Linked DNA regions of Homo sapiens: region 1 is linked to region 2. The links are contacts of gene promoters, found by promoter capture Hi-C in blood cells and fetal thymus (Javierre and others, 2016). All regions are on one chromosome and are shown on one strand. The core of a region is centred on a gene start or on the middle of the fragment in contact, and the rest is flanking DNA. Distances in the headings are between cores, read along the strand shown. Region 1 overlaps HIVEP2 (HIVEP zinc finger 2). Region 2 holds the start of LINC01277 (long intergenic non-protein coding RNA 1277).

Region 1 (6,367 bases), core at 2,987-5,486, 250 kb after region 2:
ATCTAAGGCCCTCAGTGAAACCAGAGCAAGTCTGATAGAAATTGGACAAAATGATTAAAATACTTTATGTTGCAATTTTCTTTGTTTTTATTTGATTATTTGTTTTTTCTTATTTTTCTCTACTTTTGTTTGTTTTGATGAAAATCTGTGCTAATGAAGAATTCTTGATTAGGTGGGTTGTTTTTTTCTTAAGCAAATTTTTTCCCTTCAGTGATATGTGAGAAAGAATGAAAGTGAGATTCCAAATAACATCAATAAATGAGAAGTCACTGAATATTGTATGAATTCAGACCATTCACAGGCCTGCAGATTTTGGCAAACTGCTTTCAAAACTAAAAACAATTTTTTAATTTATTATAATTTTTCAGGGCAAATAACTTCTGGTTGCCTTGTTTAAATTGCATTCTTCAAATTATTTATATGTGTGAGGAATATAAAAATTAAGCCAATATGTTTATATTAGATATTGCTCAATGCTGACTGAAACCCAAATTAAGAGTTCCAAACACACACTCTTTAGTGTTTACATTTATTTGAGGAGAAAGATCAAATTAGATCACATATAATTGGTTAATCAAAATGACACTGAAAATGATTTTCAGGCTCTTTAATTCATTGTTTAAAATTGGAGTAACACTTAGGATAGTTGAAGCTTTACCTTAAAAGTAGAGGTCAATTTGAGACTTGTAATGCTTTCTGATCAAATGGCTTCAAAACTTATTAAAGTACATGTTTCTAAATCTGAATTTATAACCCCATGGGTGTTCAACAGAGACAAAACCTTCATCCACCCGCTTCAGTACACTGCACAGGATTTGTGTGTAGGATCTGCCGGTGTAAGTTATCCATGTCCAAGAATATGTCAGATGCATTTGCCTTGTCTGCTGCTGAGCTTTGACAGTAGCTGGAAATTTGACCATAGCTCAAAGATAATATAATTTGACCATATTATTTCCATATTATTCTTAAGCAGTTCCTTAGAGAAGCAAAAATAATTAGTGCTCCTATCCAGTTATGTTATATGTACCTTTTCTGTTATATTTACGAAAGCTCTTCTTCTCTTGGAATCAATACAGTTGAAGGCTAAGGAAAAGGCACATATTCAGAGAGCTTCTGTCATTTTTCACAGAGCTGGAACTAATTAGTCTTCACAGTTGTGTTGCTCAAACTATTGAAATATACAAATAGATTCAACTTTGGAAACAGTTCCTAGTTACATTTATTGCCTTATTTAATAGTCCCCATTATTGAGATCTGTGTGTTTGTTTGTGTACATATTGTTAATTATCAGTATGAGACAATGGGAAAGAAAAGTAGAAATAGTACTTGAAGCTAGAAGTGATGTTAGTGACCAAAACACATGCCTAGAATGTCTAGATCCTTCCTATAAGATGGCCACAGATTTAGATCTTAGCTTTCTATCAGTCAGCCCAAAGAGGGAATAGAATAGGCTTAAAATGTAGTGTCTATAAAGCTAATTTTAAATAAAAATAAAATTCTTCCTGATTTTGAGTCCAGATAAATTTCTCCCATATCACTTCATTTTAAGTAGACAGTTAGAAATTATAAACCATGAGGGCTAGTCACAGTGGCTCACACCTGTAATCCCAACACTTTGGGAGACCAAGGCAGGCAGATCGCTTAAGCCCGGGAGTTTGAGACCAGCTTGGGCAACATGGCAAAACCCTGTCGCTACAAAAAATGCAAAAATTTGCCAGATATGGTGGTGGGCACCTATAGTCCCAGCTACTTGAAAGGCTGAGGCAGAAGGCAGAGGGAGGCACTTTAGCCTGGGTGTGACAGAGCTGGACCCTGTCTGAAAGAAAGAAGGAAAGAAAGACAGACAGAGAGAGAGAGAGAGAGAGAGAGAAAGAAAGAAAGAAAAAAGAAAGAAAGAAAGAAAGAAAGAAAGAAAGAAAGAGAAGGAAGGATGGGAGGTGGGAGGGGGGAGGTAGAAAGAAAGAAATTAATAAATTATAAAACATGGAGTTCCTTTTTAATTGCTAAATATACTAGAATTGACACCTTACTCTGCCCATAGTATCAAGCAATACATATTTTGGTAATCATGGTATCGGAAAAGAAATGTGGCATAGAATATCGTCATCAATTTCCTTTGTTAAATTATTGGTTAATTCACTGAAAAGAATCACCTCAGTCACTAATGATGCTAAAAAGTAAATATTCAAGTCATCAGTAAATATTCCCTAAATTTCTATACAATGAAGCACAGCATGAGTATCACAATTTTCTACTCTAGGTAGTTATGTAGAATTATGAGAGATATATACAGTTTTTAAAAAATATAACAGTCTTAAATCTACTGTTCATACATAATAGCTTATAGTTAATCATCTTAAGAGTTTTATTTTAGAATAAAAGATAAACTTTTGGATATATTATTAAATTATTTGGATATGGTTATTGACTCAGAAAAAAGTTTGGAAAATACTCTTTTTAAATGGCCTAATAAGAAGTAGTGTTTTTCCTAAGACTGCTGCAAGTACTAATACTTAAGGCAAATTGACTGTTCCCCACTCATCAAGCCCCTCTAGCACAGCTAGTTCCCTGCTCCCATCAGCAGACCTCACCTTCTACTTTTCTGAGATATTAAGAAGGGACTCCTCAGTTTCTTTTCTATCTGAAAAGTTATCTTGCTTCATTATATCTTCCTTCCCTCCATTCTAAAACAGAAAAATTTTCATGCTTTCTTCTGACAGATTCCTTATTTATGCTTTTGAGTTCCTTTTTGGTTCCCACTTTCTTTTATTCATTCTTTAATGAAATATTCATTTATTTATTTATTAGTTTTATTTTATTTTATTTTAAATTCTGGGATACATGTGCAGAATGTTCAGGTTTGTTACATAGGTATGCATGTGCCATGGTTGTTTGCTGCGCCTATCAACCTGCCATCTAGGTTTTAAGCCCCGCATGCTTAGGTATTTGTCCTAATGCTCTCCCTCCCCTTGTCCTCCACCACCCGACAGGCCCCGGTGTGTGATGTTCCCCTTCCTGTGTCCGTGTGTTCTCATTGTTCAGCTCCCACTTATGAGTGAGAACATGCCGTGTTTTTCTGTTCCCCTGTTAGTTTGCTGAGAATGATGGCTTCCAGCTTCATCCATGTCCTTGCAAAGGACATGAACTCATTCTTTTTTATGGCTGCATAGTATCCCACTTTTTAAAGAGTTTATTCCATTATCTTATTACTTGTATCTTTTCCTCCTTTGCTCCAAGTCTCCTTGCCTTAAAACAAACTTCTTCTTAATCTTTATTCTTTTTCAGGCTATACATTTGCAGAGTTTGCCCGAAAGGGATGGAAAGAAATGGGATATAATAGCTTTCTAAAGTGTCTCTGTGACTGTGGCAGTTGTCTTCTCAGAACCACTGATGTCTCTCTGTGTCTGCCAACTAAAGTTCTTTACCTTCTGCCACCACCATCACCTCAGTGTGCCTAATGTTCTAGGCAGACAGACTGTTTCTCCAATACCCCTTCTCTTGTCTATGTCACGATAATAACCTCACATTAAATGCATCTCTGCCTGCAAATCTGAGCCTTCTTTCAAAATCTAAGATAGAGTTCCTTAAATGCAGCATTTCTAAGCAATCTCCTGTCTTCATATACTCACAACACCATTTCATGCCTCTATTGCTTTTATAGCTCGTTGTTCATATGTTTTCCTTACTCATTAGACAGTAAGCTCTTTGAAAGCAGAATGTTCTCTCATTTGTCTTGATCCTACACATGCACACTATTTTTAATTCTTACTTGGTGTCATTGAAATTGATTTAAATTTATATGTATTTGGGGATTTTTTGGTAAATGAGGCAGTAATATCTGGATTCAAACTCAAAGAAATATGAAGTTTGCATTTTAGTAATGTTTTATTTCATCACATTAGTATATATGAGCTTTGGAAAAAATGTAATTTGACTGAATGAATGAGCCTGCAGATGGAATTCTGGAATTGCCTGACAGAATTTGCCCAATAGGATCTTATAAATGCCTGCTTGAAACTTGAATTTTTTTAGCCTTAAACTTTGTAGGCAATGATATATTCTGAGATGAGACCAAAAGTATGAATGCCATTCACAGTTTGTCAAAATGTCAAGGAGGTACCTGAATAACCATGTAGCACAGGTTAATAATAAATCTTTATCTAGTTAATTCATTTGTGCAAATCATGGCTTCCACTTGAGCCCCTTCCCTCTGTCTAGTCTTTCCTGGTTGTTCAAGCCATTTTTGATCATATGGTTCCTAATCTCTGAGAACAACTGATGTTCAGGTTATTTGCTGTGTGCTAACCTCATGTCAATTTCTGAAGTCTTGAGAGATAGTATCCACTTACCCTATGTACCTTATAGAACCTGGGACAGTGTGAGTCCAGATTTGTTCTTTGGTTTCCTGAGGTTGTATATCTCTACACAGGCACACAGACCAATTTCCCCACTCTCTAGGAAAATTGTCAAGAGAGGAAATAGAATTGATTCTTTCAGCAGCTCAGTTATTAGAAGTAGATAGGGTCTGTCTGATTAGGTTATATGATATGTCATAGGCTTTGCCTTGATTTCTTTTTGAGAGATTTTTATTGTGTGTAGACCTACGAGAGACTGAAGACAATTTTATTTTTCATCACATCTGAGAATTGTTTGTAGCATGAAATGTGGGATGCAATTCATATTTTCAGCTGTGCTTTCATTGCTTTGGGTATTATTTCCACTGATGCAGGAGGATCTTCCCTCAAAGATGGATTTTCTTCAGGCAAGGTCAGCCTGTTATATGAATACTTATGAATATAATGCATATTTTATGATTTGATTTCTCTGTTCTCTTTGTTTACTTAATTCAAAGTTAACTGCGGCCTTTCTTTATGCTAGTCTTGGCATACCCAGGAGTAAAAAGAAAATTGGAGAATCATGACCTTATTTATGTATATCTGCAGCAACCGAATAGTAAACATAAGCATTGTAAAAGATAAAACTTGAGAAAACAGTACATTGGAGTTATGACTTTGTTGTGTCATATATACTTCTCACTAGAGTATGGTAGTCAAATACACCTTTTTTGCTTTTATCCCTGTCTCTCCAAATATTTAGTTAAAGAGTAAATGTTTAAGCTGGCTTGGCTAGAAGTAGTTATTTACCTACCATATTAAGGGATAAGATAGAGGAAATGGAAGGGAAGGAAAAAAATAAAAATGGGAAAATGTATCACAAAAGAGAGAGCAAAAAAAGATTTTTAATTATACAAAACATCTACTTGGCTCTGCCCTTTTGCAAAACCAATGCAGCAGAAGAAGTAGTGCCTGTGGAGTTGGTGTTACCATGTCTTCACAGGTCTCCTAGGTGAAATTTTGGTATTATGAACAAGGGGCTTGCCTCCATTGACTTTCAATGAAAGAGCTATCTTTGCTTTTAGGAAGATGGTCTCATAACTCTACTTAAAATATTTACTGAAAAATTTTCGTTATAAGAGCATAAAAATCTTAGAAAATAGCTTATACTGAAAATTGGTTGTAAATTAAGTAATTATTTTTGCTTTGGATACTAAATAATGCACTGCTTATGGAAATTGATTATCTTCTAATTTTTCTGTCATTTACTCATTTTGGAAAAATTAAAATTTTTGTTGCATTTATTTTTATTTAGTATAAAAATTGATAAACATTTCAGTGGAGCATTGATCCTTAACTACTGTTATTTTCTGTTTCTTTGATTATGGATTATAAATATCTTTGCTCATTTGAATTTCAAAATTATTAATTCTTCATTTTTTACTTCTTTACTCATTCAATCAATTTCTGAAATAGGGTTAGATAAATAAACTTTGAATAAGAGGAAGTAGTGTGGATAATGGAAAATAATTGACTTGACAGTTTAAAGACCTAAGCTGTAGACCAGAACTATCATAATGAGCTGTGGGTCCCTAAGCAAGTCTTTTGACTTCTCTGGTTCTCACCTTTTTCATTTGTTAGTTGCCTGATAGATTAAATTCAATGGTTTCTAAATTATTCCATAGCCCTAAACACTGCCTATATGATTTAGAATAAGCTAAACATTTAAATAGTAATAGAAGTTTGTAGTCATATATTTGCTCCTAAAATCAAGTTAGTCAGATATATGACTTACGTGATGTCAAATTGGGTCAAGAAAACAAACCTAGGTTATAGCTCTTATCTTAGAAAACATGACGTGTGTTTTAAGGACACATGTTGGGAGAAGTTTGCATGGCCAATACCAGATGAGCACAGCCAAGATGCAGAATGACTGGAGAACACTATATGATCCTGAACCATCAAAGGAAGATTAAATTATGGTTAGTAGACTGTAATTAACTCAAGGCAAAAGCTAGTGTACTTTTGAAAAT
Region 2 (6,407 bases), core at 2,917-5,416:
GGCTTTTTTTTCCCCATTTTCACCACTTAATCACTCTTCACCAAGAGTAGTGAGCATAGGAAGAAGGGTGTAAGTCTCCTTTTAATATTTTCAGAAGGTAAGAAGAAGTTCCTATTTCATGGATCAGCAAGAAATCAGAAAATTCTGGAAACAAAAACAAATACTGATCTAACCAGTAGAAACTGGGGAGATGTTACAACATTTGTATGGGATAGACTCATAGGAGAGGGGAAAATGGCACCTGAAACTTAACTCCAGGGCATACATTTTTTAAACCAAGATATACAGACCGTAAGAATTCATTTTCCTTATTCCTGTACATCACAACATTTTCAACCTTCCCAATTTAAAACAATAACAATCTAAGTTTTATAATGTATGGAGAAAGAACTTTATCAGTAGAAATAGAAGAGCTGAATACTACACCTTCATTAATTGTTACAGGTTGTCCCCCCCTATCCTATCCTTGAAGAATCTTGGGGTCTTGTCCAAGTCCCCTGCAGACTGTAGGGTTTGGATTTTATTACATTTTATTTCTGTCTTGAGTGTCTCTCCTGTATTTAAGACTAATAGGTACACATGCTTGGAATTATATGTCTACTATGAAGCGTGTTATTGCTCTTGTTTATTGTTTGTCTCTTCCTACTACAATGTAATCTCCATAAAGATGAGGAGTTTGATACTTTTTTCACTGACAAATCTCCTATGCTTAACACATAGCTGATATGAAGTGACTGAATGAAAGTGAAAGAAGAAAAAATTGTGAAGCAATGAGAAAGCGTGTGTTGCATCTTGTGGCCCTGTTTAATATAAGAAAAGAGAGGGCTGATAATATGTGTCAATGCACACAGGGAGTGAGCTGAAATATTTGCAGGATCTTAGCAGAGGTATGATTTCAAATACTCAGTGCTAGAATGGGGAACCTGTACCACTTCTCTAATTGCAACAATGATGAACTTAACTATTTATCCTTTATTCACATAAATCTAATTTACATTAATCAAATTCACCTTAATTCATTTTTACGGGATCTGAAAATATATAGAAACCAATTCCAGAACTTCTGCTTCCAACAATGGTAGAAAACATGTTTTGGACTAAGAATAAACAATAAAGTGGTATAAAATATTTTTTTAAATTCATTAAGGGCAACAGAGAGAATTTCTATTTCCAGAAAGGATATAGTCAGTGTGGCAGGCCAACACTTGGACTAACAACGAGAAAAACCTAGGTAAATTATATATTTATAAAGGAATCAGAGGGTTTTAAAAACAAGAACTAAATGGATTAAAATTCCAGAGAAGTGAGAACTTTCCAGTAATGACTTGATGATGTCCACAATTTTTTCCTCTTGGCAAAATTGCCAGGTTGGAGTGCAGGCTAAGGATGAGGCTGAGTCCAGGCAGAAAGATGCAGCTGCGGAAAAAAGTTAAACTAACAAAACTTTTAGCAGTTATATGGGGCTTTGGTGACTCACTGAAGGTGTGAGAAACCCTAAATACATGATTAAGACATTAACTGAATTCTGAGACTGTATGGAGGCTAAAACAGTAGTCCCCAAACTTCTGAAATGCAAAGTGAAGTCCCCCACAGTGTCATGGTGCTAGAGAATCAACGAACTGCTATGGAAAAGAGGAGCCCCAAAACAAAAGAAGTAAAATATAAAAACATAAGAGGGAGTAGGGAATTGACATTGGTAATTTACAGGTGGTTTTTTGATGGGAATATTTACAGATTCTGAGCAAAGCTACAGGCTGTCCCTCAAAGAAAACAACAAAAGAGATCTCTATTCTTCACAGAAGACTATAGAGTGTCCCAAACACATTGCCAGTCTTCCTTTCAAGCGAGTTGCTGAATTTTGAAGCTTTATGGAGCAGGAGGTTAAAGAGCTAAACTGAAAACTTGCTGTTATCTTTTAGGGCTGGAAGACAGAGATCCACCAGGCTCTCAATTGAAAGCCCTGGAGGGCTACACCCTAAGAACAGAAGTGAATCGGAGGTACACTTAGCAAAACTGAAACCAGCTTCTGATTCAGAATAATCTCTGACTCGATTGAGGTGATCAAAGGCTATTCTACCTGCCCAACAGAAGAAAAAGGGAACACTTTCGGTGGAAGGCAATATCATCTGGACCCTTTATGGTTTTATTATACATAATGTCTAACATTTTTTAAATTACTAGATGTGGAAGATCAAGTTCATTTGCCCAATAATCAAGAGAAAAAAACACACACAATAGAAACACAATTATAGATGATCAAGATATTGTAATCAGCAAATGAGAATTTACAAATAATTTTTATGAATATGTTTAAGAAAATAAAGTGCAAAATTGATGAGGAAATGGACAATTTTCAGTAAAACTAACCTATAAAAAAGATTTCTTTAGGCATTCTAAATTTGAAAAAATATACTATCGTCAGTTAAGAAATCAATATATGGAGAAAACTGCAGTGGAAAGGATCAGTAGAGATAGCAGTGTGTCCAACAGCCAAGAAAGTAGGGTGGCGGGCATACAGATAGTGATGTGCATAGGGGCAAAAGAAGTCATAATGGGAAAGCCATGTGGAGGCAGCAGAGTGCCTGGTGTCCAAGGAAGCATGTATAGGGGGTACATATGGTGGCAGTTGTATGCTCAGCAGAAGAAGCACCAGGGAGGTGAAGGTAAGAGTAAGTTGGGGTGCACAGTTAACAATGTGTCTAACAGCCAGAAGGTGGAGACAGGGGCATGGAGGCAGTGGCATATCAAACAGACCAGGGTTTGGTGGGGAGAAGAGTTCAAAAGTGACAACTTGCCTGGAGATGAAATCAGGAGTGATGAGTTGGCCATGGCAGTACCTAGCATTTTTAGGAAATTAATTATGTAAAGGAGGATTGATCAAGAAAGTATCTATATTGAAGCTAATGGAAGCTGGATTTCTCTCTGTGGGAAAACAAATTTACAAATATGAAAAGGGGAAGCGAAAAAAATAACTCATTGCTATTGTTATGGTAAGAAGGAAGAAGGAAGGAAGGAAAGAGCAAAAGGAAGGAAAGAAGGAAAGAGTGAAAGGGAAGGGAGGAAAGAAACAAAAAAAATTATCAATGCAAGTGAATATGTCTGTGTACATATCCATGAATACATACATATATTTCAAAATTCTGACCATGGAGAGGACCTAGGTGCAATGACACCCCAGTAGCAATTAATAACAAGTATGTAGGTTCCAATTTCCATAACAAACAACAAGGACTCCTTGTAAAAGTGGATGATTCAAGGATGGAGGTAGAGAAATTTCAAGATAAGCCTGGAACGTTGGATAATAATGAACTGTGGTTTGAATGCTGGTATTTATCGCTGTCCATTTTCTGATTTGAAAGGCTTGGCAATTACTCTGTAGGAGAGTGTCTTTGGGAGAAGTAGTAATAGGAATATTTACAGATGATAGGACATAAAGGTTTCAACTTGCTTAACTTGCTCTCAAAATATTCAAAAAAGGTATCATATCCTTGAAAATACACATCTATCTATCTATCTATCTATCTATCTATCTATCTATCTATCTATCATCTTTACAAAAAGAGATGGAGAAAATATGAAACTATTAACTGAGGAATCTGGATGAAGAGAATGTGGGAGTTCATTCTACTGTTCTTGCAACTTTTCTGATAAAAATATTTCAAAGTAAATTATTTCAAAATTAAATTTAAAAACTCAATATATGAGTTTAACAATAGGTTGGACACTATTGAATACAAGACTTGTGAACTGGAAACATATCAATGAAAAATATACAAAGTGAAGCATGGAAGAAAAAAAGAAAGAGAAAAAATAAGAAACAAATGTAAGAGACATACAGGACAAGTATGAAAGGTCTACCATGTAAAACTGAAGTTTCAGAGGGCAAGGAGAAAGAAATAGAGCAGAAGCAATATTCAAAGGGATAATGGTTGGGAATTTTCTAAAGCAGATAAAATACATTTAACCCACTGGTTAAGAAGCTCAGCAAACCCTCAAGCAGGATAAGTATAGAGAAAACCACAATTATGCAACTCACAATAAAACTGCTGAACCAAAGACAGAGAAGATGGAAAAACCAGCCAGAAGAAAAAAGACACATTATCTACAAAAGAGCAACAATGAGACTGGCAGCTGTCTCTAATAGCAACAATAGAAGCCAGAAGATAATGGAATGCTATCTCTAGAGTACTGAAAGAAACTAAAGGCCAACGTGTGAAAAACAATCTTCAGAAATGAACGTTAAATGATGACATTTTCAAACAAACAAGCAACAAAAAGAAGCAAAAAGTAAACAAAAAACAAAAATTCACATAATTTATTGCTAGGAGTTTTACACTGAAATGCTGAAGGGATTTCTACTAGCAAAAGTAAAAATGATCTCATTTGAAAAGATGGAAATTCAAGGAGGGAATGAAGAATACTGGATGGGTAAATGTGTTGGTAACTGTAAATGAATACTGACTACACAAAATTATGTTGAATAACTGAAAGATGAAAACACAATCACTTGAAGGAGAAATGTATGGTCAAACTGCATGCAGGAAAAACTTCTATAAAAGAGTTACTTCATGCTCTGGGTTGGCAGATACAATGAGCAGGAGTGCATCAGAAGTAATCAAGAAGGTGATTAGTTGGTGTACTTCAGCAGGAGCAACCAGATGAATTGGCTTCTCTATATCCCCGTATTAGCCACAAGCTAGGCAGCAGCCTGCAGGTGGGAGCAATGCCTATGCATGTATGGATCAGTGTGCTACATACAGTAAGTACAGGATGGTACCAGTTCCTGGTGAGAGGACACAGATGAATAGAAAAGAGACTGAAATGATATACAATAAGCCAGTAACTAATGTTGCCACTAGAGATGGGGTTAGAGGAAATAGTTTTGTCTACATTATATAAATCTTTCACAATAAAAATGTATTCATGTGCTACTTGTATAATTAGAAATATATTTGAAAATGAATAATTTTGTATAGGAAATATATGTTTGACTCCATGCAATAAATACTGACATCAGCATCAAAATAAAGCATTTCTAAAAATCACCTGGAAATAAAAATAGTCTTCTAGATAACTCTTGTATCAAAGAGGAAAAAAGAATCCTGATAACATAATATAATCTTGTGAATTGTAACCAAATCTTACCTTATGAAAAATTTTGTTTAAAATAACATAAATGTATAACTCAGGAAATTAAAAAGAAGAAAATAAATCAAAAGAAAGTAAAAGAATGTAAAAGCAATGACTTAAACATGAGAAAGCCAAACATTACAATTTATTGATAAAAACAGTGATCTTGTATTTGAAAAGTTATAAAAACAAAACAAACCAATCAATCCCTAGCAAGTCTAGCCAAAGGAAACCTAAGAGAACACAAATACAATATTAGAAAACAGAAAAGGTATAACCAAAGGAAATTATAATTTTTAAATAAAATTTTTGTACTTTTCTGAGTATAAAATTTTAAAATAGATATTTTTAAGGAAACTACAAACAACCAATTTGCCTGAATAAAATATAGGAAGCCAAAATAGATCAATATCCATAGAAAAGTTGAAACTTTTGTAAAAAAAATACTGTAAAATGGCTCTGGGCCATGTTCATTTTCTCAGAAATTTTTACCAAATACTGACGAATAGTTAAGTTCTGTAGTACTTAATTGTTACAAAGCTATAGAAATCATAACTTTGATACAATAAACCTGATAAATATGTCACAAAACCATGGGCCAATCTATCTAATAAGCACAAATAAAAAGTCTGTTATGAAATATCAAATCCAACAGTATACTAAAAGAGCAATACACTTTACCTGATCAAATTTATTCAAGAGTACAAAAATTGTTCAAATTTAGGAAATATGCTAATGTAATCTTGGTAGATGCTAAAGGACATTTTATAAATGTTAACGTTACTTTTGATTAAAATTCCTGGTGTGCCAAGGGAAAAGCAGACTTTCTTAACTTGGTAACAAGTATTTTTTAGAAATCCAAAGCCAATATAATACTTAATAATGAAATACCAAAAATAATCACATTAAAGTGATAAATAAGAGGACATGGGAGCACAAGAAGAAAAACCAGGGACTCTTCCAAGATGGCCTAGTAGGAACTCCGGTCTGCAGCTCCCAGTGAGATCGATGCAGAAGATGGGTGATTTCTTCATTTCCAACTGAGGTATCTGGTTCATCTCATTGAGACTGGTTGGACAGTGGGTGCATCCCACAGAGGGCTAGCCGAAGGAGGGTGGGGCGTCGCCTCACCTGGGAAGCACAAGGTGTCAGGGGATTTCCCTTCCCTAGCCAAGGGAAGCCATGAGAGACTGTGCCAGGAGGAACAGTACGCTTCTGCCCAAATACTGCGCTTTTCCCATGGTCTTCACAACTGGCAGACCAGGAGATTCCCTCCA

The links. Contacts are between HindIII fragments. The CHiCAGO score rates a contact against its expected background, and 5 or more counts as called.
Region 1: a fragment that was not itself captured here is called in contact with the fragment with the promoter of LINC01277 in region 2 in 3 of 17 cell types (total B cells, naive B cells and neutrophils); the score reaches 5.6 in total B cells.

The regions. Positions count from the first base shown.
Region 1 is chr6:142,789,177-142,795,543 of GRCh38, reverse strand. The region is part of intron 2 of HIVEP2 (HIVEP zinc finger 2); the gene reads left to right. Among named protein-coding and RNA genes, the nearest start is that of HIVEP2, 150 kb to the left of the region's middle. The HindIII fragment of the contact is 7,164 bases long and covers 655-6,367 here.
Region 2 is chr6:143,035,341-143,041,747 of GRCh38, reverse strand. It overlaps LINC01277 (long intergenic non-protein coding RNA 1277), which reads left to right and starts at 4,166. Exons shown (of 3, transcript NR_038987.1): 1 at 4,166-4,759. RefSeq lists an enhancer at 1,839-1,908. The HindIII fragment of the contact is 5,129 bases long and covers 1,867-6,407 here.